Linked DNA regions of Homo sapiens: regions 1, 2, 4, 5, 6 and 7 are each linked to region 3. Evidence: promoter capture Hi-C in 16 types of primary human blood cells and fetal thymus (Javierre and others, 2016). All regions are on one chromosome and are shown on one strand. Each heading gives the region's core, a stretch centred on a gene start or on the middle of the fragment in contact. The rest is flanking DNA. Distances are from core to core; before and after follow the strand shown. Region 1 has its middle 2.2 kb from the start of UGGT1. Region 2 overlaps PTPN18 (protein tyrosine phosphatase non-receptor type 18). Region 3 holds the start of NIFK (nucleolar protein interacting with the FHA domain of MKI67). Region 4 holds the start of ERCC3 (ERCC excision repair 3, TFIIH core complex helicase subunit). Region 5 holds the start of HS6ST1 (heparan sulfate 6-O-sulfotransferase 1). Region 6 overlaps PLEKHB2 (pleckstrin homology domain containing B2). Region 7 holds the start of IWS1 (interacts with SUPT6H, CTD assembly factor 1).

Region 1 (3,683 bases), core at 1,178-3,677, 6.4 Mb before region 3:
TAATGTTTCTGAGCATCTTAGACTTTATACTAAACCCTAAAATTTTGATAGCTACCTTCCAGGAGGCATGATGAAAGGAAGACTTTTTAAATTTTATGAGCCGCTTGAGCTTTCTTATTCGGACAGCGGCAGCTTAGTCTACAGGGACTACTTTGTCCTTTTAGTATTTTTTTTTTAACTAATATAAACCAGTTTAAAATTGTTTTGGAATAGGTAGCATTTAACCCACCCAAAAATGAATACCTCTTTGGAGGGTATATTTTTAAGTATATTAAGTCAAAGTGAATGAAAAGCCAAAAATATTTTTTTGGAGTTGGAGTCTCGCTCTGTCTCCCAGGCTGGAATGCAGTGGCGCGATCTCGGCTCACTGCAACCTCCGCGCCCCCGCCCGCGCCCCCCACCCCCCAACCCCCCGACCCGCATTCAAGCGATTCTCCCACCTCAGCCTCCCCAGTAGCTGGGATTACAGGCGTGCGCCACCGCGCCTGGCTAATTTTTGTATTTTTAGTAGAGACAGGGTTTCACCCTGTTGGCCAGGCTGGTCTCGAACTGCTGACCTCAGATGATCCACCCGCCTCGGCCTCCCAAGTGCTGGGATTACAGGCGTGACCCACTGCGCCCGGCCCAAAATAATTTTAATAAATAAACATGAGCCAACATGATGAAGGGGAGGAAGGAGAGGAGGATGAAGGAGATGACTAATGGAACACTGATGGAGGCCGGGCGCGGTGGCTCACGCTGAGGATGGAGGCTGAGGCAGGAGAATGGCGTGAACCCGGGAGGCGGAGGTTGCTTGCAGTGAGCAGAGATCGCATCACTGCACTCCAGCCTGGGCGAGAGAGGGAGACTCCATCTCAAAAAAAAAAAAAACAGCAACAACAACAGCAAAAAAACACTGATGGATTCCAACCTTCCTTTTTTTACATTTTCTCCAGTCCCTGGGAGCAAGTTGCAGTTTTTTTGTTTTTTTGTTTTTTGTTTTTTCTCTCTTGTGCTCAGTCGCCCTGTTCTTGAGGTTTCTTTTCTCTACACTATAGTTCTCAACTTATTTTGGGGGAAATAACTTCAGCAGAATACAATGGGAAAAGAGTCTCTACCCCTTTCTGTTCGAAATTCATTTTTATCCCTTCCTGTCTGAGCAAAAACTGTATAGAATCAACATCACCCCAGCTCTGTGGGAAAAAAGAAAAACCTGCTCCCTTCGCCCTGCTGGAAGCTGGAGGGCTCTAGGCCCATGTGTAGCAGAGCATTCAATTCTAGCTTTCTTCCTGCTTTCTCTGTATATTGGGCTCGGAGAGTACACTGGGTCTCTATGTGAATATGGACAGTTAGCATTTACCAACATCTTTCTGTCTACTTTCTCTTGTTTAAAAAAAGAAAAAAACTTTAAAAAATGGGATTCTAGAAGTCAGCAAAGGGTGGGTCTGAGATGTTTGGGTGGGTTAAGCGGACATTTTGACAACATGGCTTCTCCTTTGGCATGTTTAATTGCGATGTTTGACACACATCCTTGCAGTTTAAGATGACGCTTTTAAAATAAATTCTCTCCTAATGATGACTTGAGCCCTGCCACTCAGTGGGAGAATCAGCAGAACCTCTAGGATCTTATTTGGAATTGACATTCTCTATTGTAATTTTGTTCCTGTTTATTTTTAAATTTTGTTTCACTGGAAAGGAAAGATCATGCTCAGTTTTAAATGTTAAAAGTGTACAAGTTGCTTTGTTACAATAAAACTAAATGTGTACACACACCTACGAAAAGAAAAAAACATGAGCATTTTAAAATTTATTTCACAAGGGAGCTGTTGTGTTAGCTTTCCATAGTGTATTTTCTAGCCCTCTTTAAATCACATCAGCTAATGCTTCAATAAAAAGGAAATTGTTAATTCACCTCATTACAAAGTTGATTATATACTTTTTCTTGGCCTTATCTTGATCTTCTGCTATGTGATCCATGAACAAAACCAAAGTTTGCTTAGTTTTAAAATACAGCTAAGTGGTAGCACAGAGCTTCTAGGAAAGTTGGATTTCACCTTTTCTAAACCTTTCTCTGAAAAGTGCTACCTTATTTGAATAAAAACAGATTTTAAAAAATTTTTTAAACTTTTTATTTAGAAATAATTATAAATTCACAAGAAGTTGCAAAGATAGTACACAGAGGTACTTTGTACCCTTAAGCCCATTCCCCCAATGATTACATTTCAAATATCTATATTAAAGTATGAAAACCAGAAATTGACTTGGTACATTGTGTGGGGGAGACAGGTATATTTCCATCATTTTGTGTATGTCTGTACATTTGTGTAACCACTGCCAAAATGAAGACCCACAACTATTGCAGCACCACAAAGATCTCCCTTGTGCTACCCCTTTATGAAGTCAGAACTACTTTCCTACCCCCAAAACCCCTAGCCTGTGGCAACCATCATTTTGATCATTAAATATAAAATTTTTCAATTCTAGAATGTTATATGAATAGTATCACATAGTATGTAGCTTTTTTATTTATTTATTCACTCAGCATAACCACCTGTGGAGCCATACAAGTTGTAGATATCAGTAGTTTGTTCCTTTTTATTACTGAGTAATATTCCATGGTACAAACATACAGATTCATTTTAGCATCACCTATTGAAGGATATTTGGGTTTTTTCCAGTTCTGGACTATTACAAATAAAGCTCCTATTAACATTCATGTACAGGTTTGTATTTATATTTATTTATTTATTTATTTAAAATTACAAAAATCAGCCAGGCATGGTGGTGGGCGCCTGTAATCCCAGCTACTTGGGAGGCTGAGGCAGGAGAATTGCTTGCACCCAGGAAGCAGAGGTTGCAGTGAGTAGAGATTGCGCCACTCCACTCCAGCCTGGGTGAGGAGCAAGACTCTGTCTCAAATAAAAAAAAATTATTTATTTATTTATTTATTTATTTAATAGATCAGGTCTCACCATGTTACCCAGGCTGGTCTCAAAATCTTGGGCTCAAGCAATCCTCCCCACTTGGTCTCCCAAAGTCCTGGGATTACAGTCATGAGCCACCACGCCCAGCCCTATGTAAAGGTTTTTTACATAGACACAAGTTTTTTGTTTGTTTTTGTTGGGAAGGAGTGTCGCTCACTCTGTCACCCAGGCTGGAGTGCAGTAGTGTGATCTGGCTCACTGCAACCTCTGCTTCTGGATTCAAGCAATTCTCCTGCCTCAGCCTCCTGAGTACCTGGAATTACAAGTGTGTGCCACCACACCCGGGTAATTTTTTTATTTTTAGTAGAGATGGGGTTTTGCCATGTTGGCTAGGCTGTTTTCAAACCCCTGACCTCAAGTGATCCACCTGCTTCAGCCTCCCAAAGTGTTGGGATTACAGGCATGAGCCACCATGTCTGGCCTAGACCTAAGTTTTTTTTTATCTGGGATGAATGCCCAAGAGTGCAATTACTTGATCATATGGTAAATGTACATTTTGCTTGTAAGGAAAGGCCAAACTATTTTCTAGAATGGCTGTACCATTTTACATTCCCACCACCAGTGTATGAGAGATCCATTTTCTCTGCATTCTTACCCACAATTGGTACTGCCATTATTTTTTTATTTTTGTTATTTTGATAGGCACATAGTAATTCCTCATCATGGTTTCAATTTGCATTTCCCTAGTGGCTGGTGATGATGAGCATATTTTCACATGGT
Region 2 (4,087 bases), core at 429-2,928, 8.6 Mb before region 3:
GGTAATTTGGGGCAGAGTGTTGGTTTGAGGGGTGGTCATTTCTGTGTCAACGTCTACTGAACAAAAGAATGCGGAAGTGGCATAGAAGACAGGAAGGGATGGCCGCAAGGACAAGGGCCTTAAGTCTCCGCTGCGAAGGCGGCTCAATCCCATGTCCGCAGCACCCAACGTGCGGCCTGACAAGAAGGCGGCGTCTAGAATTATTTGCTGAATTTTTTTTGTTGTTTTTTTGAGACAGGATCTCGCTCTGTCGCCCAGGCTGGACTGCCGTGGTGCGATCTCGGCTTACTGCAACCTCCACCTCCCGGGCTCAAGCGACTCTCCTGCCTCAGCCTCCGGAGTAGCTGGGATTACAGGCTCTCACCAGCACGCCTGGCTAATTTTTGTATTTTTAGTAGAGACAGGGTTTCACCATGTTAACCAGGCTGGTCTCCAGCTGGGCTCAAGTGATCCGCCCTCCTTGGCCTCCCGAAGTGCTGGGATTACAGGGGTGAGCCACCTGAATTAAGGTTTGATTAGAGGATCCAGGAAAGGCCTAACTCAGAAGGCAGGGCAAGCCTTAGAGGCAGAGGCAAGGGGTAAATGAATCATCTTGGGATAATTGAATCATCTTGGGGTGGGTTCCCAGAGCTCAATTCGAAGAAAGGGCCAGCGAACACTTGGCGAAGTGAACAAGGAACGGACTGGTGTTCCAAGGATGAAGAAGGGGTTAGCCTGAGAAATTGGGCAGGGAAGAATCCGGGGATGGAGCCGGGTACCTGAGGACCCCTCCTGGTGGGCGGGGTATGGCGAGAAGTGCCTGGGGAGTCCGGAGGAAGAGGGCATCGTCGTAGAGTGGGGCACAATTCTGAAGAAAAACAGGAGGGGAGGCTCCTGAGGGAGGAAGCTGGCCAGGCCTCTCAAGGGGCTCTGGGAGAAAGCTTAAGATGGGAGAGCCTGATAAGGATGCCTGGAGGAGGGCACAGGTGGATGTCATAGTCAGTGCCTGCTCCCAGTAGTCCCGGGGGCTGGACCCTGCTCGGGGTCCTGGTCTCTGAGGGTGCTGATGGTGGACAGGAGAGTGGGAAAGGAGCCTCTGTACCTCTTTGATGTTCTGGTAGTGGGGGCTGGCATTCTGGAGTGTGGAGCAGAACATCTGAGCCACCGTGTGGTACAGGAACCTGTACTGCTCCTGTTGGGGTGAGGGACCATCAAGAAGGGAAGGCAGGGGCAAATGACAGCAGTGGGCCACTGTCCCTGAAGATTAGGAGACCCAGGGTTCACCTCTGTCTGCACGGCCGCAGGCCGCTGCTTCCTCATCTTAAGGACCACATCAAAGAGACTGAAGTCAGGTGGGATCATCTGGGGCAGACAGACAAGGCACTTGAGCAGGACACGTGGTCATGGGCAGCACACTGCACACACAGGATGCCTGTATCGTACCTGGGTCAGGAGCAGCTGCCTCACATAATCCACGGTGCACAGGACGCCTGTTCGCCCACAACCCGCACTGACAAGAGAATCAGAGTGTGCCTGGTCAGGTCCTGACCACAACCCCTTTTAGATGGGGCATTTGGGGATGGGGGTGAGGGTCCTGATGGATCCCCTGCAGAGCCTCTTGATTCCCAGAATCTTCAGATTATATCTGAACAAGGAAAACCTTTTTAATCACTTACATTTTGTTGAGCAAGAGCTGTGTGCTTATTCCCCAGCTGAGTCTGTGCTGAACAAGTGCTCACAATTACAGTCCATGGAGGGTGAGCAAGGGTTCTCAAAATAGGCACTCAGACTACAAGACTAGCCCCATGCCCTGTACTCCCCTCCATGCTCTGTCCCCTCTGCCTCACCAGACCCTCCTGAAGCCCATTTCCAAAACCTGCAGTGGACACAGAGGGGTTCAGGGCCAGATCCCTGGAGGCGACGGGCTTCCTCCACCATGGCGAGCATGTGGTCAGGACTGCTGGGGACCCCACGGTCTGGCCAGGACATATACTGTAGCTGGTACACAGAACGGGACTCCTGAAACACAGAAAAAGATGAGCAAAAGACTTAGGAAAAAAAAGAAAAAAGCATTAATTGGCCATCTACTATACACCAGGCCCACTTCTAGGCATCTTCCATTTATGTCTACCAGACAATAACTGAGGAAGTGGGTACTAGTATGATGCCCATTTTTACAGGAGAGGAAACCTCTCCCCTTTCAGGAGCCCCTTTACCTCCTCCTCCCCTGTCACAGTACCTTCTGGAATGTGACCTTGAGGGTCCTGAGCATGATGTCCTCATTCAGCCACTTCTCCTTTATCTGAGTAAGGGGGGTGGGGCAAGTAAGAAGAGGGAGGAGAACAAAGATCATAGGTACCAGAAGACATTTATAGAAAGCAAAGCATTCCTGATTAAAAAATCAAATACAGAAAACATTTTAAAAATTCATATAGCCCAAACTTTCCCCAAAGCTTTCATTAAGGAAACATTTGACACAGGAGCAAAAGAGGAACTATTATAAAAACACAAGCCCTTTTGCAATGAAAAGAGATGTCTTTTGTTCTAAAATGAAACTTTTATTGCATTTATTAAGTACTAACTGTATGTATGACTTGAGAGAGTTCCCCAAGCTCTTTTGAAATGGTAAGAGAAGTAAGAATTTCAACAACCTAACCAGGCACATTTACATGACAGAGATTAACTGATTGTAGCCAAAATAAAAATGCAAAGGCTATCCCTATAGTAAGTTCTAACTATTTGCAGGCTAACACCAGAGGGTTTCCTGCAGTATGAGTGGACTGTGGGTTAAATCATTCAACCTTTTAGGCCCAACCCAAAGCCTTTCCACCCTGGGAATCTTCCTTGAAAACTCCCACAGCTCACCAGAGTGATGCAGAAAAGCCCAGTCTGCAGTGGCTCCTGCTCCTGGGCCCAGTACCGCTCACACCTTTTCTGCAAAAGGTAAGGGAGAAAAGGCAGGGAGTGAGAAGAGGGAGTCAGCTTCAGAGCTAGCTCAATCATGCCACAAGACACCCCAGGTGCTCGTGGTGGAAGCACAGGCAGCTATACTTATAACCTATAACAGACGCCAGCCAACAGAGCCATCAGATTAAACACATGCAGACTCAATGGAGGTGCGCTGCTGACCATGCAGGGGAAATACAGTCCAGGATACCCTCCCACTGTAAGCAACTAGAAACTGGACAAAATACATGAGCCACTATTTTCAGACACTGGTTGGCAGGTGTTGCAGTACTGTGGTCACTGAACAGACCACTCCGGCTTATTGCATGGAAGTGTCACCAGGCTGTAAGACATGAGTCTAATGATCCCACTGAGTTGAGCCAGAGACCATGGCTCAAGGAGGCAAAAGCAGCTAGAATTTGCAGGGCAGAGTCCTGGAAGGAACAGAGGTATGCAAATAAAAACAAAACAATAACTTGCATAGAAGTCCCCTCCTTGATTCTTTGGTTGAATAATCTGAATATATACAACATGAAACCCCATGAGGCCAGGCAAGAATAACTTACCATGAAAGAATAGTAGGGATCTGTAGGATGAACATTTCCTTGAGCTCATGATGAGAAAGAATTCACATTCCCTCTAGCTAGAGTGTAGAGGCATTATCAACTATAAGGGGCATTTAGTAGGGAACCTAGAATGACCACACATTAGAAGTACGGCTAAATTAATTCTAGAACAAAGGCTACTTGATCAACCATCCAAAAGTTCCTGAAAAGGCAAAACACTCTAAAGAAAACAATCCAACACTTACCTGTGCAAAATTCAAAATATCAAGCATCCAATAAAATTTTGCTGGACATACAAAGAAGCAGGAAAGTGTGACCCATAACCAGGAGAAAAATTAGTCAATAGGAAAGGGCCCAGAAATAACAGTTCAGGAAAGAAGCAAAAATCTTAAAATGGCTATTACAAATACACTCAAAGATGAAAAGGAAAACATGAACATGATGCAGAGTGGAATGAAAGATACAAAAAATAACCTGAATGGAATTTATAAAGAGGAAAAATAAAATATATGAAATGAAAAATCCACTAATAGCAGGGTAGACACTAGAAGAAAGGATCAATAGACATGAAAACATAGCAATATAAATAATTCAAA
Region 3 (4,203 bases), core at 629-3,128:
GGAAGTGGGCTGGCCTCGCTTGGCACTCCCTCCCAGGGCCTCCACCTCAGGCCCACAGGCCACTCTTCGGGCACACACACCCTGGGCCGCCTTCACGGCTTCCAGAACACGGCCGCAGCTATCCCCTGACACCAGCTGTGCTTGATCTGTCGCTCTCGCCTCACCTCCCTGCTTCCTCGGCAATCCACTCCCCACCCTTCCTCTCCACTCAGTTACTCACTAGTATAATAGTATTTGAAAGGTACAAACAGGCCGGGTGCGGTGGCTCACGCCTGTAATCCCAGCACTTTGGGAGGCCGAGGCGGGTAGATCACTTAAGGTCAGGGGTTCTCGACCAGCCTGGCCAAAATGGCGAAACCTCGTTTCTACTAAAAATACAAAAATTAGCCGGGAGTAGTGGTGTGCACCTGTAGTCCCAGCTAGTCGGGAGGCTGAGGAAGGAGAATTGCTTGAACCCAGGAGGCGGAGGTTGCAGTGAGTGAGCCAAAATCGCGCCACTGCACTCCAGCCTGGACGACAGAACGAGACTCCGTCTCAAAAAAAAAAAAAGAAAAGAAAGATGCAAACAGCCACAGCCTCGCTTTAAACCCGCCCATCCCCTCGCATTTACAAAACCCCAGTTTCATACTTTGACACACAGTCATGGGGCTCCAGCCTGCCGCCTCGCAGCTCTTCCCTCCTGTGCTGGGCTCCAACCCCACTGCCGCGTCCTTCTTTCTAGACCTAGGAACACTGTGCAGGCCTGTCCGGTCCAGCGGACGGCAGGCGCTCGGTTCTCCACACCCCGCTCTTTAGCCTTCAGGCCTCGGTGCTAACGCCACCTCCTAAGGGGGACCCTCCGGCGCCACCCAGTGTGCCTCTCCCCCACAAGCCTCTTTGGTCTCTTAAAGCAGCCATGCTGCCCTCAGGCTGTAAGTTCTCCAAGGGCCGCGGACGGACGGGGCCACACAGGAGAGCTCACACACAAGTGAGTGAAAGAATAACCAAATTAGGGCCGGGCGCGGTGGCTCACGCCTGTTATCCCAGTACTTTGGGAGGCTGAGGCGGGTGGATCACCTGAGGTCAGGAGTTCGAGACCAGCCTGGCCAACATGGTGAAACCCCGTTTCTACTAAACATACAAATTAAGCTGGGAGTGGTAACGTACAAATTAAGCTGGGAGTGGTGGCGGGCGCCTGTAATCAGCTACTCGGAAGACTGAGGCAGGAGAATCGCTTGAACCCGGGAGGCGGAAGTTGGAAGTTGCAGTGAGCCGAGATTGCGCCATTGCACTCCAGCCTGGGCAACCAAAGCGAAACTCTGTCTCAAAAAAAAATAATAATAATAATAAGCAAATTGAGGAATGAGAGCAGCATCTCAAGGACACAGGTACTGTTTTGGAATTTATTTTAGACCTTTTTTGAAAGTAGGCGTGAACGTAATTGTTTCAGGCACTCTTAAGCGAAGCCAGCCGGCGCCCCGACAGCCGAGGGTGCGGGAGCTCCCCACGGCCCAGCCCCAGCCCCAGACCCCGCTGCCGCGCCTCGGCACGCCCCTGCGCCCCGCCTCCGCGCCTCGGCGCTACTCACGCCCCGCCCTCCGCTCCTCGTCACGCCCCATGTCGCGCCTCCGCGCGACTCACGCCTCTCCCAGTCTCTCGGCACGACCTCGTGCCCCGCCCTCGCCCCTGGCGCAATTTATGCCCCGCCCCGCGCCTCGCCACACCCCGTGCCCCGCCCCCGCTTCTCCGGGCAACTCCTGCTCCAACCCCGCGCCCGACTCATGGCCCTCCCCGCCCCTCGCCACGCCTCGCCTCGCCTTAGCGCTTCGCCCCGCCCCTGTCCTGCCTCTACTTCCGCCTCGGGGGAGCTGGGAGCCCGACGTTTCCGGGAGCGCCGCGTGGTTAGCGTCGGCGGCTTTTGGCATGGCGACTTTTTCTGGCCCGGCTGGGCCAATCCTGTCGCTTAATCCGCAGGAAGATGTCGAGTTTCAAAAGGAGGTGGCGCAGGTTCGCAAGCGCATAACCCAGGTGAGCAGGCACCCTGGCCCAGGCTGCGAGCGGGGGCGATGGACCGGGTCTAGAGGGTATCTGGGGTTGCACGGTTTCCGGCCCGGGCGCCCCTTGCCTTCGTGCTCGCCTTCATTACCTCCAGGGTCTCCCAAGTGGATTCGACCGAATCAGGGACCGACCTCTTAAGCTTGCAGGCCACGGTTTCCGAGACGAAAGGGTTTACGCTGTTCGGTAAATGATGGAGGGGTTTGGCCGCTGAGGCCCTGGAGCCTTCATGTGGAGGGTAACGGGGAAGTATTGGGGTGACAGAAGCAGTAGAAAGAACCAGCTGGAGGGAATAGGCTCCTATACCACAGGTTATCTCCGGGTTAGAGCTGTCACGCTTCCGCGTTTCCCCCAAAAATGGGAGCCCCAGACTTAACACATTCGGGAAGTTTGTATGCCGGGTTGGTGATCTGGGAGTTATTAAAATAGAGTATTTGCCAGGTTCCACTTGCTGACTAGGGCCCCTGACATCGCTTATACTTTCTGTGGTTTTTAGCATAAAATACACAGGAAAACTTAGAAGTTCCTGTTACAGAGGTAAGGCTATGATGACTGAGACGTTGAAAGGCTAATCTGTACCGTGAGAGTTAACAAGCGTATCGAAAATTTTTCGATGAAGTGCGAGTAAACAGTAATATGCATACCAAATTGAAGCCTACGTTTATGTAGAGTTCTCTGGGCAGAAGATCTAAAATGGCTTGTTCAAAGATGTCCTTGCTTATCCGTTGATTGACATAGTTATTGAGCTCTAATATTATACTGGGTGCTGGGATGCCAGGCTGGAAAGATAGTTGACTACTGCTTGACCATGGCCTTTGTGGGGAGAGAAACACTAAACAGCCAGTTCTTTAATTACTACTGTGGTAAGTGGAAATGCAGAATAGGTTCTTGGGCCGAGGGCTAGGGGTTTTGTTACAATGTGATTTTCTTATTTATATATTTAATTTACCTGGTCTTTACGTCTTTAGCGAAAAAAACAAGAACAACTTACTCCTGGAGTAGTCTATGTGCGCCACCTACCTAACCTACTTGACGAAACCCAGATCTTTTCATATTTCTCCCAGTTTGGCACTGTGACACGGTTCAGGCTGTCCAGAAGTAAAAGGGTAAGATTTTTGCAGTTGGATTTAATGTTTTGTTTTTCAAATGTGTATTATCCTTGACATTAAAGAGCACGTTCACGCATACATTATTGCTTATCAGATTTCATTCCAAAAAGGAGAGTGGAGGAGGTTTAGAATCTGAAACAGCTACAGGAGCAAAATCAGTATTATTGTAAAAGTTTGTTTTTTACATTTCTCCAAATCCTTACATTAAATTGACAGTCCTGGTAAATGAGCTTTAGTATGAGGCCCAGGTTTATACATTTTCTTGTGTTAGCCTTTGGTACAAGCATCCTTATAATAGCAAAGGTTTATATAGTGAATAGTTAAAGGTGAGGACTCTGGAGTTGGACTGCTGAGGTTTGGGGTCAGGCTCTACACCTTACTAGTTAGAGTGATATGACCTTACCATGTTTCAGTGTTGTGATCTGTTAAATATAAGTAAAACTTCCTGGGAGTATTTAGTCAAAGGTTAAATATAAAGTCTTTAGAGGATTGCTTGGTACACAATAAACACTATATAAGTATAATTACTATTTGTGTCATACCTGCCTTCTAATGAGAAAACGCTTTACATAGCTTGTTTCAATAGTGGAGGAGTGACCCACTTTCTTTTCTTTCCCCGCACATAAACTTTAATTGGTTGTAGCCATAGACACCTATTTGATTTAGCATGTGGGGGATAGGGTGCACATCCATCATCTGTTAGTTGTCGTAAAGATAGATTGTAGGTAGAATTGAGGTCCCTTTTGTACCCTTCCCAGTGCTCTTCAACTTCTTTAATTAGGGAATTAAATTCACAAATTCAGTTTTCTTTTTTTTGAGACTGAGGCTTGCACTGTCGCCCGGGCTGGAGTGCAGTGGTACAATCTCAGCTCACTGCAACCTCCGCTTCCCGGGTTCAAGCAATTCTCCTTGCGTCACCTTCCCAAGTAGCTGGGATTACAGGCGCCTGCCACCATGCCTGGCTAATTTTTTGTGTGTTTTACTAGAGACGGGGTTTCACTATGTTGGCCAGGCTGGTCTCGAACTCCTGACCTTGTGATCCTCCCGCCTCGGCCTCCCA
Region 4 (4,284 bases), core at 498-2,997, 5.6 Mb before region 3:
TCTTCTCACATTTCACTATAAGCAATAAGGAGAAAGCAGGCCTCAGTTTTTTTTTTTTTTTTTTTTGAGACGGAGTCTTGCTCTGTTGCCCAGGCTGGAGTGCAGTGGCGTGATCTCTGCTCACTGCAACTTCTGCCTCCTGAGTTCAAGAGATCCTCCTGCCTCAGCCTCCTGAGCAGCTGAGACTACAGGCGCGCGACACCACGCCCAGCTAATTTTTGTATTTTTAGTAGAGACGGGGATTCACCATATTGGCCAGGCTGGTATTGAACTCCTGACCTTATGATCCCCTGCCTCGGCCTCCCAAAGTGCTGGGATTACAGGCGTGAGCCACCGCGCCTGGCCCAGGCCTCACTTTGAACCATCATGTAGAAATTTCCTCAGCAAAATGTCCAAGCTTATCACTTATAAGTTCTACTTTCCACCCAACAGAATACAATTCAGGCAAGCTCTCTACCACTTGCCTCCAGTTTCAATAACATATTTCTCCTTTCCATCTGAGCCGTCACCAGAATCACCTTTAATGCCCATACTTCTACCAAGGCTCTTCAAGACAATAGAGGCTTTTCTATCATGCGCCTCAAAATTCTTTCAGCCTCTACCGATTACCCAATTTGAAAACCACTTCCCCATTGTTAGGTATTTGTTACAGCAGTACCCTATTCCCCGTACCAAAAATCTGTGTTACGTTCTCCAGAGAAACAGAACCAAGAGGCCCACTGAGCAAGCGAGATTGATTGATTGATTTTAAAGAATTGGCTCATGCAATTGTGGGGGTTGGCAAGTTGGGAATTCAGGTACGAGTTGATGTTGTAGTTTTGAGTCCAAAGGCTGGAAACTCAGTCAGAACTTTCTGTGTTGCAGTCTGGAGGCAGAATTCCTTTTTCCTTGAGAAACCTGTCTTTGCTCTTAAGGCCTTCAACTGATTTGGATGAGGCCCACCCGCATTATTGAGGGTAATCTGCTTTATTTAGGCTGAGACATGAGAATGGCATGAACCCGGGAGGCGGAGCTTGCAGTGAGCTGAAATCGCGCCACTGCATTCCAGCCTGGGCGACAGGGCGAGACTCCGTCTCAAAAAAAAAAAAAAAAAAAAGAAAAAAATTTTTTTTGAGACGAACTCTCGGCCTGTCGCCCAGGCTGTAGTGCAGTGGTGCAATCTCAGCTCAGTGCAGCCTTTACCTTCTGGGTTCAAGAGATTCTCCCATCTCAGCCTCCCAAGTAGCTTAGACTACAGGCGTGTGCCACCATGCCTGGCTACTTTTTTTTGTATTTTTCGCAGAGATGGGGTTTCACCATGTTGGCCAGGCTGGCCTCGAACTCCTGACCTCAAGTGATCCACCCACCTCAGCCTCCCAAAGTGCTGGAATTACAGGCGTGAGCCACCGTGCTCAGCCAAATTTTTTTTAATTAAAAAAAAGAATTCTTCCTTACCCATGGACTCAGGTCACATTCTCTCTCTCTCTCTCTCACACACACATTTATTGCCCACATGGCTTCATTAAAATTTAAGTTCCAGAAGGATGAGGCCTTTAATTCGCGCACTACACAGGTGCTCAACACACAGTATTTTCCTTCAGTTGTAGAGAAATGAACAGTGGAGGACCCCCGCCGCTGGGTCGCACGAGCTAACAGATCGGCGGTCGCTGGCTCTCCGCTCTTCCAGCCACCCACATCACGGCGCCTAGAGGCGGGACATCCTGTGTGGACAACAGGGAGCTTCCGGATTGAGCCGGAAGTCCCCCCAGAGCGGATGCCGCGGCGGGCCTGTGGGAGCGGGGTCATCTTCTCTCTGCTGCTGTAGCTGCCATGGGCAAAAGAGACCGAGCGGACCGCGGTGAGACGTTGCGCGGGCACGCTCAGCCACGACTGCCCTTGCCGGCCCTGCCCCCCGCTCTGCCTCGGAGCTGCTCCGGGCCTCTGCGCCGGCCGACCCTGCTGGCCCTCCCGCGCGCACCCCGTTGGGACAGGCCTTTGGGCGGGAGAGATGCTGGACCTGGGCGCAGCCCAGCGAACTCGGCCTAGGGGAGACGGGTGAGGGGCGCAACGCCTGCGGGATGCAGGTGGCTCTTAGCTAGGAGTTTGCGGCGGCGCAGGTGAAATGCTGCCAAGCGGTGCGGAGGGAACCCTGAAGGCTCCTGCTGGGCTTACTTCTGTGTTGGTATCTTGCAGACAAGAAGAAATCCAGGAAGCGGCACTATGAGGATGAAGAGGATGATGAAGAGGACGCCCCGGGGAACGACCCTCAGGAAGCGGTTCCCTCGGCGGCGGGGAAGCAGGTGGATGAGTCAGGCACCAAAGTGGATGAATATGGAGCCAAGGACTACAGGCTGCAAATGCCGCTGAAGGACGACCACACCTCCAGGCCCCTCTGGGTGGTAAGCATGCCCTTAGCTTGGGCAGGGCCCAGGAGTGTGCGGAGCGGCAGCTAAATCTTGGGCATCCTCAGAGTCAAAACTGACATTCAGGATACTGCCCCTAGAACTGGCCGGGAGAGAATTTTCATCCACACACGTTGGAACAGCCCAAGGCAACAGCGAGCAGTTGCGCACACGTGTGGCGGCCGGACCTGGGCTTCCAACAGCTCTAACCCCTCGGTTTACTCTCACTCCTTCCCCAGCCCTACCCCATGTAGTGAATCCTTTTATCTGCCGAATAAATAGCATTTATCATGTAACAGTTTGTTTCCTCAAATAATGGAAGACATGTTCGGTAGCAAGCTTTTGCTCTACTTTAAATAATTAATGTTATACATTTAGTTGAAATCTAGCCAAAAGGTAACTTGAGGATAGCCAGTAAGATGGGCTTTCTCTGTGCAGAATAGTAGGAAACAGCTGTTGACTTTGGAAACACTTTCTTCTATTTTTCTTTACTCTTCTGTATCTGATTAATGTAACAGGCCCCACAGTTGTCTGAAGGAGTGCTTGCAAGAATATCTGTGGTGTTGGGCAGCTTATTCTTTCTTGATAATGATATGGGCAAGAGCCCAGTAGTCTCTGCAACTCATGTTTCCTTGTCTGTTTTGTCCATTTGGTATCTCTCAGGCTCCCGATGGCCATATCTTCTTGGAAGCCTTCTCTCCAGTTTACAAATATGCCCAAGACTTCTTGGTGGCTATTGCAGAGCCAGTGTGCCGACCAACCCATGTGCATGAGTACAAACTAACTGCCTACTCCTTGTATGCAGCTGTCAGCGTTGGGCTGCAAACCAGTGACATCACCGAGTACCTCAGGAAGCTCAGCAAGACTGGAGTCCCTGATGGAATTATGCAGTTTATTAAGGCAAGTGACAGCTGAGACCAGCAATTCCACCTGCCCTGCTAATGTAACAATAGGCATAGGTGCTCCATGTTGTCAGCCTGTGGCAGCCATGAGAATGTGCCATTCAGATTTCCTGTGGGGAGCATAACGACTGATTACCCCAGCCGCTACACTCTGGATCCAGCATTGTGTTCTGGGTGAGGCCATGCTTCTCATGAGCCGCTACACTCTGGATCCAGCATTGTGTTCTGGGTGAGGCCACGCTTCTCATGAGCCGCTCCCAGCTGTGGGTATTAACACAGAGGGGCTACTAATTCAGGCCCATTGTAGCCAGGGAGAATTTGGAAATGCAGCCCAAAGTGAGTGTGCTGGGGACTGAATTGTGTGTGTTCCCCTCAAATTTTGTCTTCAAAACCTAATATCCAATGGTAATGTATTTGGAGTAAGAAAGTAGTTAAGACTAAATGAGGTCGTGATCCGCTATGATTAGTGTCCTCCTAAGAAGAGACACCGGAGCATGCTTTCTCTCACCTGCCCTTCTTGTCATGTGAGTACACAATGGGAAGGTGGTCCATAGACAAGAGCCTTCACCAGAAACTGAATCGGCTGATACCTTGATCATAGACTTTCAGCCTCCACAGCTCTGAGAAAATACAGTTCTAATGTTGAAGCCACCCAGTCTGGAATTTTATTATGGCAGCCCAAGCTGACTAACACAGGTGGTAAACTCTGTCTAAAGCTAAGTATCTGCAGGAGACCAATAGTCAACAAGTTCCATGAGGGAAAGTCAAAAACAACTTCAGATGTTTTTGACAAAACAAAGAGGGTTCCATGTGATTAATAGTTGAACATGCTAGGTTTCTTCTGCGAGATGGGTGAATGCCATTTAAAAGAGATGGACAGTGGCTTTCATTGCCTTTGGCTGATCCAAAAGGAGTCAGATTCAGACCTTGGGATCTGGAGTGGCAGAAGAGTGCCACAGGAATTCAGTATGGTACTGCAGCCAGTCCCAGAGAAGCTGCAG
Region 5 (4,241 bases), core at 1,708-4,207, 6.6 Mb before region 3:
TTCTTTTACTTTTCTTTGCCATTAAGTCAGAGATCACGCATTAAAGAATTGGTGAAGTGGATCTTCAGGGGACAAAGCCACTGAGCAGAAGAGCTGCCAGTGCTTTTCCTTGGACCCCACAAGCAGTCAGGGCCAGAAGCTGCCCCTAGCAAACACTTAGCTCATATGCACTCTCGGGGCTGGGGCAAACCTTGGCCACGCAGGAGATCACCCAGGGAAGAAAGGAAACAGCGCGCAGAGCGCGCCTCCTGAGACCCTGGCTGTGTCCGCTGACCTCCTGGAACCCCACGCCAGCCCCAGACTGTGCGTTTCTATCCATTTTCCAAGACATGACACTGAGGACTCATCGCGGGGAGTAGCGGGAAGTGGTGGGGAGTAGCGTGATGCAAGCTGCCCCGCCAACGAGGGCTCGAGCTGCCTTCCACTCGGCTCAAGTGTCCACTGATTGATGGGTGGCTCATCTGACTTGACTTTCAGAGCCCAGAAACTCACCTACAGCCTTAGGGTCTCAGGTGCCTGTGCAGGGCTTCAATCAAAGTGGAAGACTGAGCAAAGTCCTGTAGCCAGCCAGGCAGATTTCCCTCCTCTTAAAAGAATTCTAGAAAGAAAGGGCTTCCTGGCTAATGTGAGTGCTTCCCATCAGCCAGTGTGGCAGGTATGAAGTTGGATTAAATAGCTTGTTCTGGGAGATGTTGCTCCATGGGTCAGGCTGCTCTGGCTCCCATTCAAGGGTGGGACCTTATCACAGGCACTTCGTCCCTGCCTGGGCCTCAGTTTCCCCCTTGGGACAGTGAGATCATCACAGGGTGGAGCCATGGCCCAAGTACCGATGGCTTCGTTGGCCTTCGGAGCTGCTCCAGCTTTCCCTTGAACACTCTGGGCCCACGTTCCCCCTTGGTGGCAGTGACGGTCACCAGGCTCTCAGGAGTGGCCCCTGTAGACGCTCTCATCCCTGGCCTAGGGAGCTGGGGCAAGTGCAGAGGTGGGGAAGGGGAGGGTTCTGGGGCTCACAGCAGGAATCAGGATCCCAGCTCTGCTGACTCTCATGGGGTGAGAGTGGTTGACCTTGGAACCAGGGTCTTAACCCCTTTGAACCTCAGTTTTCTCTTCTGTAAATGGATATCACAGCCTACCCCCGCAGATTTGCTGATGGAATTGGAAATGACACCTCTACAATGCCTGGCACCCAGCAGGTCTCCAAAAGAGCAGCCTTAATTATGATGTAGCACGAGGATCCTTATCTGGGTAAGGACATCTGGGGGGTGGACCCGGGGCAGCTGTGCTCCCCTAGGCCACACAGGAAGGCTCCCCAGGGCTCAGGCACAGACTGCGTCAAGGGGCTGCAGGCAGGTCCAAGCACACTGCAGGGCGGCCCCACCTGTGTCCCATGGGGACTGCACCCCCACTCCTATAGGAATGAGTCACTTCTGGAGAAGCTTGTCCAAGCTGCCCCCAGGACCCTCGGGCCAGGGACAGTTTTAAAGCAGCCTACAAGATGAGCAGGGGCTTTGGGGCCCTAGGTCCCACTGAGGACCCCACACCATGGACTCCAGGGTGCGCTGGGCTGTGTTGAGGGTTCTGCACCCGCCTGTCCACAGCGGATATTCTTGCGGTCCCTTTGGAAAATGCATGCCGCCCGCTCAGCTGGGTTTGGGGTGTTGGTTTTTCCAGCTCTCTGGGTTTGCTTCCAGGAGGGCTTTCTGGTGTGATGTTGTCTACGTTTAACAGCTTTACTGAGGCATAATTGACACCCCATGATCGCTTCCGGTCCCTAACAGAACGGAAGGCAGGGCACCACCCCGCCTCCCCCCCCACCCCGTCCCCGGCAGGGCTTGACGTGGACACTGGGAGCCCACGCCTGGCAGCCAGACTCGCTCCCAGAGCCCTCGCTGGCCTGAACCAACACACTAGGGCCCACCGCGGCCGGCCCTGCAGCTGTGAGATCCTGGCAGGTCCCAGCCCCACTCCTGCGCTTCCGACGGGCTGCAGCCTCCGAGTACTGCCAGAGCCCAAGCAGTGTGAGTGGGCACCTGGCGGGACCCCCCGCCCCACGAATGCCGCGCGTGCTTGCCAGGCTGGGCGGCGGCGAGTGAGGAGCCCGCACCACCCGGCCCACACACGAGCCAACGTGGAGCGAGCCCTCCGCAGCCAGGTTGGGCCCGGGCCGCTGGACTCTCCAACCAACCCACGAAAGACAGAATATTTGGTGGGCACTCACGATTCTTAAGAATTGGCTCAATGTTTTATAACTCTTTCATTGGAGTATAATAAACATGGATGGGGGAAAATGCACCTCGTCTGATATTCTTTTCAAACAAGGAGGAAGCCATAAAGCCGCTCCGCAGGCCTCTGCAGACAGCCCAACATCTCTTCAATGCGGGGCTGCGGGGCACTGTCCCAAAGCCAGCCGCAGGGGTGAGGGGGTCGAGCAGGAAAGGAAAGCCTCGCTTTCCCTCTCGGTCCTGGTGGTGGGCGGCCCCCGCCGCCCTGGTCCCTGGAAGTGCAGCCCAGTAGGCTAGCGTCTAACTTCAGCGCCCCAGCGTGCAAGGTCAAGGCCTTTCCTCCCGCGCGGGCTGCGGGGACGTGGGCGGCTGGGACTTGGGGAGGAGGGGGTACGGACCCAGGCTCCAGAAGCGCCAGCCGCCGCGCCCCCTCACCGCGGCCCCCGCCAGGAGAGCCTCCCACGCCTCGGCTCCGCACTGCCGGTTGGTCCCCCACTCCCCTGAGGGCGGAATCACTTCCCAGTCGCTGGCTGCCCGCCTGCTAGCGGCCTCGCCACCGCAGCAGACCCAGGTCCCGCGCCCAGCACCCGCGGCGAACCCCGGCACTCCGGAGGCGGGGCCGAGGATCGGCGCGGGCGGCGACGGCAAGAGACGCCACGGGGGCGGGCCAGGGGCGGACCGGGGCGGGGCGGCGGCGGCGGACTGCGGAGACGCGGCGGCGCGCGGGGCGGCGCAGAGCGTTCTCGGCGCGGAGTGGAGCGGAGCGGGCTGGTGCTGGGGGCGCGGAGAGCGCTGTGCTGGCCGGGGCCGGGAGCGGGGCCGAGCGGGAGCGGAGTCGGGCGTCGGGCCCGGGGAGCCGGGGCCGGGCGGGGAGCAGCCATGGCACCGCGGAGGGTCGGGGCCCGCGCCGCTGCGGGCGGCCTGGGCGCCGAGTAGCCGGGCCGGGCCGGAGCGCGGGCGGCGGCGGAGGCAGCTGCGCCCGCGCCTCCTGCCCTCCCAGGCCCCGCGCCCCGCGCCCGGGCCCCGGCGATGGTGACACATGCGGCGGCGGCGCGCCGGCGGCAGGACCATGGTTGAGCGCGCCAGCAAGTTCGTGCTGGTGGTGGCGGGCTCGGTGTGCTTCATGCTCATCTTGTACCAGTACGCGGGCCCAGGACTGAGCCTGGGCGCGCCCGGCGGCCGCGCGCCGCCCGACGACCTGGACCTGTTCCCCACACCCGACCCCCACTACGAGAAGAAGTACTACTTCCCGGTCCGCGAGCTGGAGCGCTCGCTGCGCTTCGACATGAAGGGCGACGACGTGATCGTCTTCCTGCACATCCAGAAGACGGGCGGCACCACCTTCGGCCGCCACCTCGTGCAGAACGTACGCCTCGAGGTGCCGTGCGACTGCCGGCCCGGCCAGAAGAAGTGCACCTGCTACCGGCCCAACCGCCGCGAGACTTGGCTCTTCTCCCGCTTCTCCACCGGCTGGAGCTGCGGGCTGCACGCCGACTGGACCGAGCTCACCAACTGCGTGCCCGGCGTGCTGGACCGCCGCGACTCCGCCGCGCTGCGCACGCCCAGGTGAGCGCCCGGGCGGCGGGATCCTCGCGCAGCTGCGCCCCCGAGGCCGGGCCGTATGCCCGCCGTGCTGTACTGGGTCGGCCCTGCCTTCCCTACCCCCTTCTGCCCTCTTGGGGGCCCCCACTCGCCGGCACCCCTCCCGACCTGCCGAGCGCCCGAGGCTCCCAGCTCCTCTGGGTGAGCCGGCTGTCACCGCGCTTTCTGACCTCGCTCTCACTCTCTTCCTTGCCTTGTGCTGCCCTACTGCCGGCTTGACTGCGCAGCGCCCGGGTTTTCTCCAGGGTCCCCGCCCGCTGCCCTCGGGCCACCTTACCTGCTGTGCGCCGTGAGGTCTGGCCCGCCGGACTTGGGGACGCGGGCTTCTGGGTGTGTGCGTGGCCTACCTGGAGTGTTGGCTTCCCCGTGCCGCTTCGGTGCTGTGGTCCCAAAAGTGGAAGTGAGAGTAGTGAGGTG
Region 6 (4,236 bases), core at 1,374-3,873, 9.4 Mb before region 3:
GTACTACAGGGGAGGAAAAAAAGTAACTGACAAATTTCCTACAAGTTTTTGACTCACTGGTGGATTGAAGAGTTTTACAAGGCAGCAAAAGTCTTCTATGATCAAAAGTCAAAAGATTACATGTAAATCAATAGCAATTTTACCATATCCACAAAGATAAAATACTATTTTTTTTTTTTGAGACGGAGTCTCACTCTGTCACCCAGGCTGGAGGGCAGTGGCGCGATCTCAGCTCTCTGCAACCTCCACCTCCCAGGTTCATGCCATTCTCCTGCCTCAGCCTCCCGAATAGCTGGGACTACAGGCAACCGCCACCACACCCAGGTAATTTTTTTGTATTTTTAGTAGAGACAGGGTTTCACCGTGTCAGCCAGGATGGTCTCGATCTCCTGACCTCATGATCCACTTGCCTTGGCATCCCAAAGTGCTGGAATTACAGGTGTGAGCCACCACACCCAGCCAAAATACTATTTTAAAAAGTGCCAAAAAAAGGTGAAAATAGTTGTCTATAGTTTAAAAAGGGGGTGGACAAGAGATTGATATATTTTTTTTTATTCTAAGGTTTAAAGCACTATTTGGTTGTTTTTTTTGTTTGTTTGTTTTGAGACAGAGTTTCGCTCTTGTTGCCCAGGCTGGAGTATAGTGGCGCGATCTTGGCTCACTGCACCCATCGCCTTCCAGGTTCAAGCGATTCTCCTGCCTCAGCCTCCCAAGTAGCTGGGATTACAGGCGCCCACCACCACGCACAGCTGATTTTTGTACTTTTAGTACAGACGGGATTTTACCACGTTGGTCAGGCTGGTCTCAAACTCCTGACCTCAGGGGATCCACCCGCCTCAGCCTCCAAAAGTGCTGGCCTCCAAAAGCTTGAGCCACCACGCTCAGCCTATTTGGTCTTTCAATCTATGTACATGTATTATTTTGATAAATGTAAACATGTAAACAATAACCTGAATTATCTTCAACTATACCAAAACAAAAAAACCAACCTAAATTAATCTACCTATTTGAACCTTCCAACAGTGCTCTGCTTTCGTTTTTAAATTGGGGAGAGAAATTTAGAGAGTATCTTTAGAAACCAAAAATCATGAAGTATGATTTTGATCACATTTTGTTTTGTTTTTGTAGAGACGAGGTTTCACTATGTTGCCCAAGCTGGTCTCGAACTCCTGGGCTCAAGGGATTCTTCCATCTCAGCCTCCCAAAGTTCTGGGATTACAGGTATGAGCCACTGCAGTCAGCCTATCATATGCTTTTGAAATTTCACAGAACCCAGTGTTTGGGTATAAGCTTTAGAGTTAAAAGACCTATGTTCAGATCCTGACTCAATCGGACAAGTCACGTTTCCAAGCCTGATCTATAAAACGAAAATTCCCACCACCTACTTGACAGGATGTTCGGAAAATTGGGTGAAATAATATGTAAGTAGTTGGCATGGTGCCTCACAGTTACTAGAACTCGATAAATGGTAGCTGCTTTGACAGCAATTATTACTATTTACTACTATTATTACTATTACTTATTTTCCCCCTTACCAAAATTTGCCGAAAATATTCTAGAACAAGCTTGTCCAACTCATGGCCCCAGCCCAGGTCAGCTTTGAATGCAGCCCAACACAAATTTGTAAACTTTCTTAAAACGTTATGAGATTTTTTTGCAATTTTATTTTTTAGTGCATCAGCTATCATTAGGGTTAGTGTATTTTATGTATGGCCTTCTTCCAATGTGGCCCAAGAAAGTCTAAAGATTGGACAGCCCTGTTCTAAGAACAAGGACATCAAGCTGCTTCTCAAATGGCTCAGAAGACTTCTGTTTGATTGCCTTAGCATGCTGAATTTCACACCACTCCATAACTTAATTCAACATTTCACTATTTATATCCTGGAGCAAAACTGAATGCATAAACTAAAACTCATCAGATAAACACTAAGCCCTAGCTGTTGGTCTCTAGAGAATAAAACACCAGCAAACTAGCTGCAAAAGAACATTATTTTTATGCCAATAAAACCTATGCAAAGCTTTAAAATGTAAGCCATATTCAACAATTTAAATTATTTTAAATTTGAATTTGTATCTCTTTGAAAGCATTGAATCGAAACAGACAACAGATGGACAAAAAATACTGCCTTTGGAATCTGACAGTTCTAAGCCTGAAGCCTACTTTGCCTTCTACTCACTAGTATGACCTTCAGCAAAATTCTAAACCTCTCTAAGCCTCAGTTTTCTTACCTGTATGACCAGGCACAACCAATTACGTCATGGGGTTACTGTGACAATTAAAGGAGGTATGTCCAAACAGCCCTGTAGTAGATGGTCCAAAAGTGAGAATTGGCCAGGCGCGTTGGCTCACGCCTATAATCCCAACACTTTGGGAGGCCAAGGCAGGCGGATCACCTGAGGTCAGGAGTTCGAGACCAGCCTGACCAACATAGTGAAACCCCATCTCTATTAAAAATACAAAAAATTAGCCGAGCATGGTGGCGCACGCCTGTAATCCCAGCTATTTGGGGGGCAGAGGCAGGGGACTCCCTTGAACCCGGGAAGCGGAGGTTGCAGTGAGCCGAGACTGCGCCATCGCACTCCAGCCTAAGCAACAGGAGTGAAACTCCGTCTCAAAAAAATAAAAAATAAAAAAGTGAGAACTGCTACAATTACATTACTATTTTGTTCCAAAAGCTAGAATTCAGGTTTAACTGTCTACAACTCCTCATGATATCCCAGTTCTCCAGCTCTCTTTCGCTATAAAAGTGGCTTCCTTATGAAAAAGGAAGAAAACTCATCTCTGTTCTTCAAGGGCAACAGTGGAGAGTCAAAGAGATGTCACAGGTACATTCTGAAACAGAAGGGAAAGAAGGTTGGGTGACCCATCAACATGTAGAGGTCAGTTCCCACGTGGCATTGGCCATTTCCAGTTGGGAACCACTTCTTAACAACAAGCCTAATACAAGCACCATCAAAGGGCAGACAGGCAAAGAAAGCAAAGAGGCAAGGAAGTCCAACTTTCCGTTTCCATGATCCACTGTGGAAGCAAATATATAACTAACAAAACAACTGGGTCAATTAGCCCCCACTTTGGGAGCATTTTTAACAGTGTGTTTTGCAGTTTTTGGTAGTTACTGTTATTAATAAGGTAATTCTTTAATTTCTTTAGACAAACAGTAAGAAGGCAGGCAGAGGAAAGGAGAAACAAAAATATTAATGCAAGCTGAAAAGCATAAGCAAAGCTTTCAGAAAGAGCTGAGAGAAACCTCCACCTTCCCAAGGAGTAACACCACAAGAGTATCTGTCCTCTCTATACCACTGCTGTACACATTTAATCAACTCAGTCCTTGAGAATAGCAGGAAATTTACTTACAGAATGTACCACCGCCTTTAAAATATAATGCTAGCAAAGAACCGCTGTCAGGTTCTGAGTTCTTTTCTGCAGCCTTCTTCAATAAGCATTTACTGACCACCTACAAAGTGCCAAACACTATGCTGTTTATTAGGGAAACCCTGCAACACAGTTTGATTCCTGTCCTCAGGGAGATCAGTACGAATAGGGAAGAGTCGAGTAAAGAGATCACCACCACAGAGAGTAAACACCAGGCACAAAGGAAGCCCAGACAAGCTCCAGTCCTATCAATATCCAGCCAACCAGCCCAGGGTTAGGAACTTTCTGAACCTAGGGAACACTCCTGAGCACCACAATTGAACCGTCACAGCAGTATTCCCACACCCCCACAGGTCCTTAGGCAGACACACCCACTGCATGGGCACAGACGCACAGCTGTGTCTGTGCATACATGTTTTGGTCATTAGTTTAGTCAACAAATACTGAGGGCCACACTAAACAGGCAGTTACCAGTGCCAGCTCGGGTCCTAATTCCTCATGTGACTTCGGACAAGTCACTTCCTGAATTGGTACTGGTTCATACCAAAGGCCACAGAAGACCTTGGAATATTCCTCCCCTCAGCTGTCAGCCCTCCTCCCTCGGTGGTGGTTCCACCCTTTCCTAAGCACTAAAAATTTAAAGGCTGAGACCATGAGTCAGTATTATTTTGAATTAACCATGTTCCTTTAATTTTTTACAGTGACCACTCCACCTCATTCCTTTCCTCCACCCACCCTGAACCGGTCTACATTTGAGATTTAAGCGGGGTGGCGGGGCGGGGATCCCTATGCAAATCCCTGACCTCCGGAGTTTTCAATCTAGTTGAGTAACAGAATCAAACATGAAGAGAGATATGTAAGAT
Region 7 (4,147 bases), core at 1,541-4,040, 5.8 Mb before region 3:
CCCATTTCAAAAAAAAAAAAAAAGTTTGAATTATTTAATTTCACAATATTCTGTCCCAGGAATCATTATATAATATATATATTTATATCATGTATAATATTATACAAGTAATATATATAACATATTATACATTATAATTATATATGTGCATTTAGCTTCATGACAACTCTGTGACATAAATGGTACTGTTATCCCCAACTTATAGATGAGGACGTTGAAGCACAGAGAGGTTCAGCAACTTGCTCAAGGTCACGCAGCTAGTAAGTTTCATTTGTGTCTTCCCTGGTAGGGCTTGCTAGTGGCTCAAGCACAAGAAGCTGGGTCAGACTTAGAGACCTGGATTCTCTGACGTAGAAAAAAGCTAAGAGTACTTGAAACCTGATTCAACCCTCTCATTTGATACATGTGGAAACTGAGGCTCATAGAAGGCTGGTAGCTTGTCCCAGCTTACTAAGTACAATAAGCCCAGCGATAGGCCCACAGCCTAGGGCTCTAAGCCCCCAGTCTACAGCTCTGATGGTGCCAGGCTATTTATATTATGCGGCCTCTTGCTCCCTGACATGTTCAGCAGATGGCAGTGTCTTCAGAGTGTCTCCAAATAAATCTTACATTCACTTAGGGAATGCAGCGTCTCTGGGTTATCTGTTAAGGGAGGAAGCATTGTGGACTGCTGCAAGTTTGCCTCTCCATTCTTCTGTCATTAGCACCCTTGGTGTGGGAAACAGCCTATCTTCTGGGTGCCTCCCTACCACCGCCATGGGCCAACTGTACTGGGGTGGGGTGTGATGGGTAAGGAGATGGCAGTCCTGAAAATGTAAGGCAGCCAAGACTCAGAAAGACACATCTGTGCCACTACAGAATTTCTCTACCAGGATCCAGGAGGGACAGCCAGCTGGTAGGAAGGAGCTCTGGGAACTCTCCGTAAGCTGTGTTTACACTGACAACCACACTGCTTTAACTAAGGCTCTGTATTCATTTGAAAGACTTGTCCTGTCTCACTAAATTGTTGGCTTTCTGAGTACAAAAATTAGATCTGATGCTTCTTTGCAGGCTTCTAGAGCTAAGAACATTGTTGTGTGTCCAGAGTGTTTCTATCCTTTCTCCAAACCACCAGTACAGTTAGTTTTAACGCTAAAATTCAGTAATTTTCATCCGGCAATTGCATTGTTTATAACCCAACCACTTTCCTGACTGTTGGACTTACATCTCTGGTGAAACTAAAAGGTTCTCTTCCACTGAACCTCCGCCTGGAATTTTGATCTATTAATCCTGCTCCATTTACACAGGTGTACTCTCACCTTCTCTTTAGAAGAGGGCTTAGAGCCTTGATATCTTCTATCAAGTGATTCGGTTTCGGGCATTGCTAATTCTTTGTTCTTTTGATTCTCAAGACTGCCTGAGAAGATGTCATTCCCACAGCTGAAAAGAAGGAATTTGGATTCAATGCTGTTTCCACCACTTCGGAAAGGAATATCCATGAACTCTCTTGCAGGAAAATGGGAATTTCCAGAGAGAAACCACTTCTCCCCTTTCTTCTCTTCCCACGTCCTCTTCAGGAGCCTATAATTGGGCTCTGCCAGCATACTCTGACTGGCTAACGAAGGGTCAGATATCTGCAGTAGTAACAAAAGGCTCTTTTTCTACATGTCTACACCTCCTGGGGAGTCTTTGCTTAAACCTCTACTGGCCCTCCTCCGATCCAAAGGCAAGAATGTTCCCCTCTCTGTCCAAGACTAAAATGAACAAGTAAGGAAATGGATTTTACTCAGCCTATTGCAATAGGGAGAGCACTCCAGATATGATCAGTGTCTTGGCAGCGTAGTTTTGACTTTTATAGGGAGGAAGGTGGGATGATTGACAGTTGGGATTGTTTTGCAATCAGGAGAAGTTTCAGTCAGGTGAACAGGAAATGTTCTCTGTGTCTAACAAGTTGGGGGGAGGAGAGTTCTAATCTCAACTAATCACTCGATATCATCAGCGGGAATTTGGAAGGTCTGTTTGGCTTTATTAACAGGCTCAGAATAAAGGGGAAAGGTCTCTGGCCTTGTCACAGGCAAACAAGGGGGTCATCTGCACGCGTTTTATCTGAGTCACATGGAGACGGGTGGTTCTTTACAGTGTGCCGTTCCAGAAACACAAATAGATGAGGGGGTTTCTTAATCACCGCTGTTTTCCAGGAACACAGGGCTCAGGTAAAGTTCAACTTCACCTTCCTCCGGTGTTTCATCAGGGGAACCCTTCTGGAAGCAAAGACGTGTACTTCTTACTGTTGGCTAAATGGCTTCTTAACAAGGAAATTAAATCGTTGTTTAGAATGAAAGAGAGGAAGACGCCGGGAGAGGAGGCGCTGTGGATCGCGCCAGTTAGTAACGCATCACAGCTCGCGGGCGTCATACTACAAGTCCCAGTGAGCAACGCCCGCTTTCTTGCCTACTGCGGGCGGGAACCAGGCGCCTCTGGGCCTGACGGGAAAGACAGTGGTTTGGCTGAATGACGGAAAAGTCATTTGAGCAGGTCTTCATTTTTCGGAAGAGTATCTCAAAAGCTCTTCAAACAAGGCACGGACACAGAATCTAGGAAATGATAAAGAATCAATGATAACGTTATTACCACGGGGGTCAGACCAGGATCCACCCGAGGAAGGTATTTAACTAAAGCCCGAGTTCCAGCTCAATTTTCCCAGGAGTCTCCTTTCCGGCCGTGCCTGGCGTCATTGCTGTTGCGTCTTCTCATTGGCCGGTTGACGGGTTGCGGCGCCTGCGCGCTGCATTCCTTTGAGGGTCGTGGGCAGACGCCATTTTGGCCCCAGCGGTGCTTCTAGGAAGTAGAACGCCGGCTCGCATGCCTGCCCGCCCGCCAGCCTGCCGGGTACGGCCTTTTCCGCCGGGGCTTCCAGGTCAAAGAATTCGCCTTTGCCGCTACCGCTTTCTTACCCTCCGCACCCGTTAAGTTCTCCGGTCGGGCGGCAGTCTCTGAACACTTAGCCGCGCCATCCGGGGTCACACCGCCTGGAAGGAGGTGACGGGGGCGGCGCGGGGCGCGGACACTCCCCGCTGAGAGTCCGCCTGCCATGGACTCGGAATATTACAGCGGCGACCAGTCAGGTGGGGCAGGGACCTGGGGGACCGGGCTGGGAGGCGGAGCAGTTACTCGGCGGGGCTTGGCCTGGCACCCCGCGGGTGGGGGCAAGGAGGCCCCCCGAAACCTTCCCTCCCGCGACCCGGCCCGAGGAGGGCAAGAGCCCTCTGACCAGCTGCAAGCGTCGAAGCTAGAACGTTGGAGAGGGGATTCTGGTGGGAAAGCTTTCTTCTGAATCGGCGAAGGTTTTTGCTGAAATTGGGAAGTCACTTTCATATGTTAAGCTCCTATTGTGTGCAGGGAAGGAGAGGTGTCTTCTGTTAAGAGAGTTTTCAGTAGTTGAGTAGTTGGAGAATCCAAGGGGCGTTGGGGCGGGGGATCCTTCCTAGACTTTTCACTGCTAGTTAGGAGTGGTTTAATCTTGCTTGCAACACCGGACGTAAGTGCAGGACCCATGTTTCAGTTGCATGCATAGAGTAAGGAATGCGCTTCTGGCACTTACTGGTGGTTTTTGTGCCTTTCCTCCACCTTGAGATCGTTCCTCTTCCTCCTCACCGAAGTTTGGTCTCCTTTCTTTACTGTTTGTTTATTCTGTAAGCTGTTACTGGGGCCCACTCTGCTGGCACGGTGCTTGGCACCTGAGATTAAGGATAAGTGAGGCAGAACCTGGTGTGGGAAACACGTCGCATTTGCTTTCCCTTTGTGTGCTAGTCCTGTTGGGGCGTTCTGTTACAAAAGTTCTTAAATACACCATAAATAAATACACCCTCTATGTACCCACAAAAATTGAAAATTAAAAAGAAAACTTGAGTGCTTAAATAATTGTTTAAGCGTTAAGCCCTTTACTGTTTTGAGTTCATTGCTTTTCCTTACGTAGGACAGTGAATTCTAATGACTGCAAAGCGTTTTCCAGGCATGCACTGCTTAAAAACACTTTCCTAAGCCAGGTGCGGTGGATTATGCCTGTAATCCCAGCACTTTGGGAGGCGTAGGCGGCCGATGGCTTGAGCCCAGGAGTTCGAGACCAGCCTGGGCAACATAGTGAGACCAACACCACCCCCACCCCCCA

The links. The method cuts DNA at HindIII sites, captures the fragments that hold promoters and counts their contacts. A CHiCAGO score of 5 or more calls a contact.
Region 1: a contact is called between a fragment that was not itself captured here and the fragment with the promoter of NIFK in region 3, in 4 of 17 cell types (activated CD4 T cells, naive CD8 T cells, non-activated CD4 T cells and 1 more). The highest score is 12.9, in activated CD4 T cells.
Region 2: a fragment that was not itself captured here is called in contact with the fragment with the promoter of NIFK in region 3 in 2 of 17 cell types (non-activated CD4 T cells and total B cells); the score reaches 17.4 in non-activated CD4 T cells.
Region 4: the fragment with the promoter of ERCC3 here is called in contact with the fragment with the promoter of NIFK in region 3 in 4 of 17 cell types (naive CD8 T cells, activated CD4 T cells, non-activated CD4 T cells and 1 more); the score reaches 7.6 in naive CD8 T cells.
Region 5: a contact is called between the fragment with the promoter of HS6ST1 here and the fragment with the promoter of NIFK in region 3, in 1 of 17 cell types (total CD8 T cells). The highest score is 8.5, in total CD8 T cells.
Region 6: a fragment that was not itself captured here is called in contact with the fragment with the promoter of NIFK in region 3 in 2 of 17 cell types (total B cells and fetal thymus); the score reaches 11.5 in total B cells.
Region 7: a contact is called between the fragment with the promoter of IWS1 here and the fragment with the promoter of NIFK in region 3, in 2 of 17 cell types (non-activated CD4 T cells and naive CD8 T cells). The highest score is 8.3, in non-activated CD4 T cells.

The regions. Positions count from the first base shown.
Region 1 is chr2:128,087,174-128,090,856 of GRCh38, reverse strand. No RefSeq gene overlaps it. Among named protein-coding and RNA genes, the nearest start is that of UGGT1, 2.2 kb to the left of the region's middle. The HindIII fragment of the contact is 4,939 bases long and covers 1-3,683 here.
Region 2 is chr2:130,367,959-130,372,045 of GRCh38, reverse strand. PTPN18 (protein tyrosine phosphatase non-receptor type 18) reads right to left here. Exons shown (of 15, transcript NM_014369.4): 6 at 2,845-2,913; 7 at 2,219-2,281; 8 at 1,856-1,998; 9 at 1,423-1,489; 10 at 1,264-1,341; 11 at 1,082-1,171; 12 at 759-847. Among named protein-coding and RNA genes, the nearest start is that of PTPN18, 14 kb to the right of the region's middle. RefSeq lists an enhancer at 1-216. The HindIII fragment of the contact is 1,512 bases long and covers 923-2,434 here.
Region 3 is chr2:121,734,550-121,738,752 of GRCh38, reverse strand. NIFK (nucleolar protein interacting with the FHA domain of MKI67) reads left to right here and starts at 1,878. Exons shown (of 7, transcript NM_032390.5): 1 at 1,878-2,007; 2 at 3,003-3,140. The coding sequence starts at 1,903. RefSeq lists a silencer at 1,392-1,841 and an enhancer at 1,942-1,991. The HindIII fragment of the contact is 3,379 bases long and covers 1-2,178 here.
Region 4 is chr2:127,291,607-127,295,890 of GRCh38, reverse strand. It overlaps ERCC3 (ERCC excision repair 3, TFIIH core complex helicase subunit), which reads left to right and starts at 1,747. Exons shown (of 15, transcript NM_000122.2): 1 at 1,747-1,837; 2 at 2,173-2,378; 3 at 3,045-3,281. The coding sequence starts at 1,810. The HindIII fragment of the contact is 2,323 bases long and covers 400-2,722 here.
Region 5 is chr2:128,317,584-128,321,824 of GRCh38, reverse strand. It overlaps HS6ST1 (heparan sulfate 6-O-sulfotransferase 1), which reads left to right and starts at 2,957. Exons shown (of 2, transcript NM_004807.3): 1 at 2,957-3,788. The coding sequence starts at 3,262. RefSeq lists silencers at 2,615-3,024, 3,719-3,948. The HindIII fragment of the contact is 4,073 bases long and covers 1,439-4,241 here.
Region 6 is chr2:131,106,058-131,110,293 of GRCh38, reverse strand. The region is part of intron 1 of PLEKHB2 (pleckstrin homology domain containing B2); the gene reads right to left. Among named protein-coding and RNA genes, the nearest start is that of PLEKHB2, 2.8 kb to the right of the region's middle. The HindIII fragment of the contact is 1,206 bases long and covers 2,021-3,226 here.
Region 7 is chr2:127,525,132-127,529,278 of GRCh38, reverse strand. IWS1 (interacts with SUPT6H, CTD assembly factor 1) reads left to right here and starts at 2,790. Exons shown (of 14, transcript NM_017969.3): 1 at 2,790-3,104. The coding sequence starts at 3,071. RefSeq lists enhancers at 2,191-2,260, 2,501-2,550, 2,811-2,870, 3,401-3,460, 3,471-3,550 and 1 more and silencers at 2,296-2,469, 3,111-3,220. The HindIII fragment of the contact is 4,097 bases long and covers 1-3,304 here.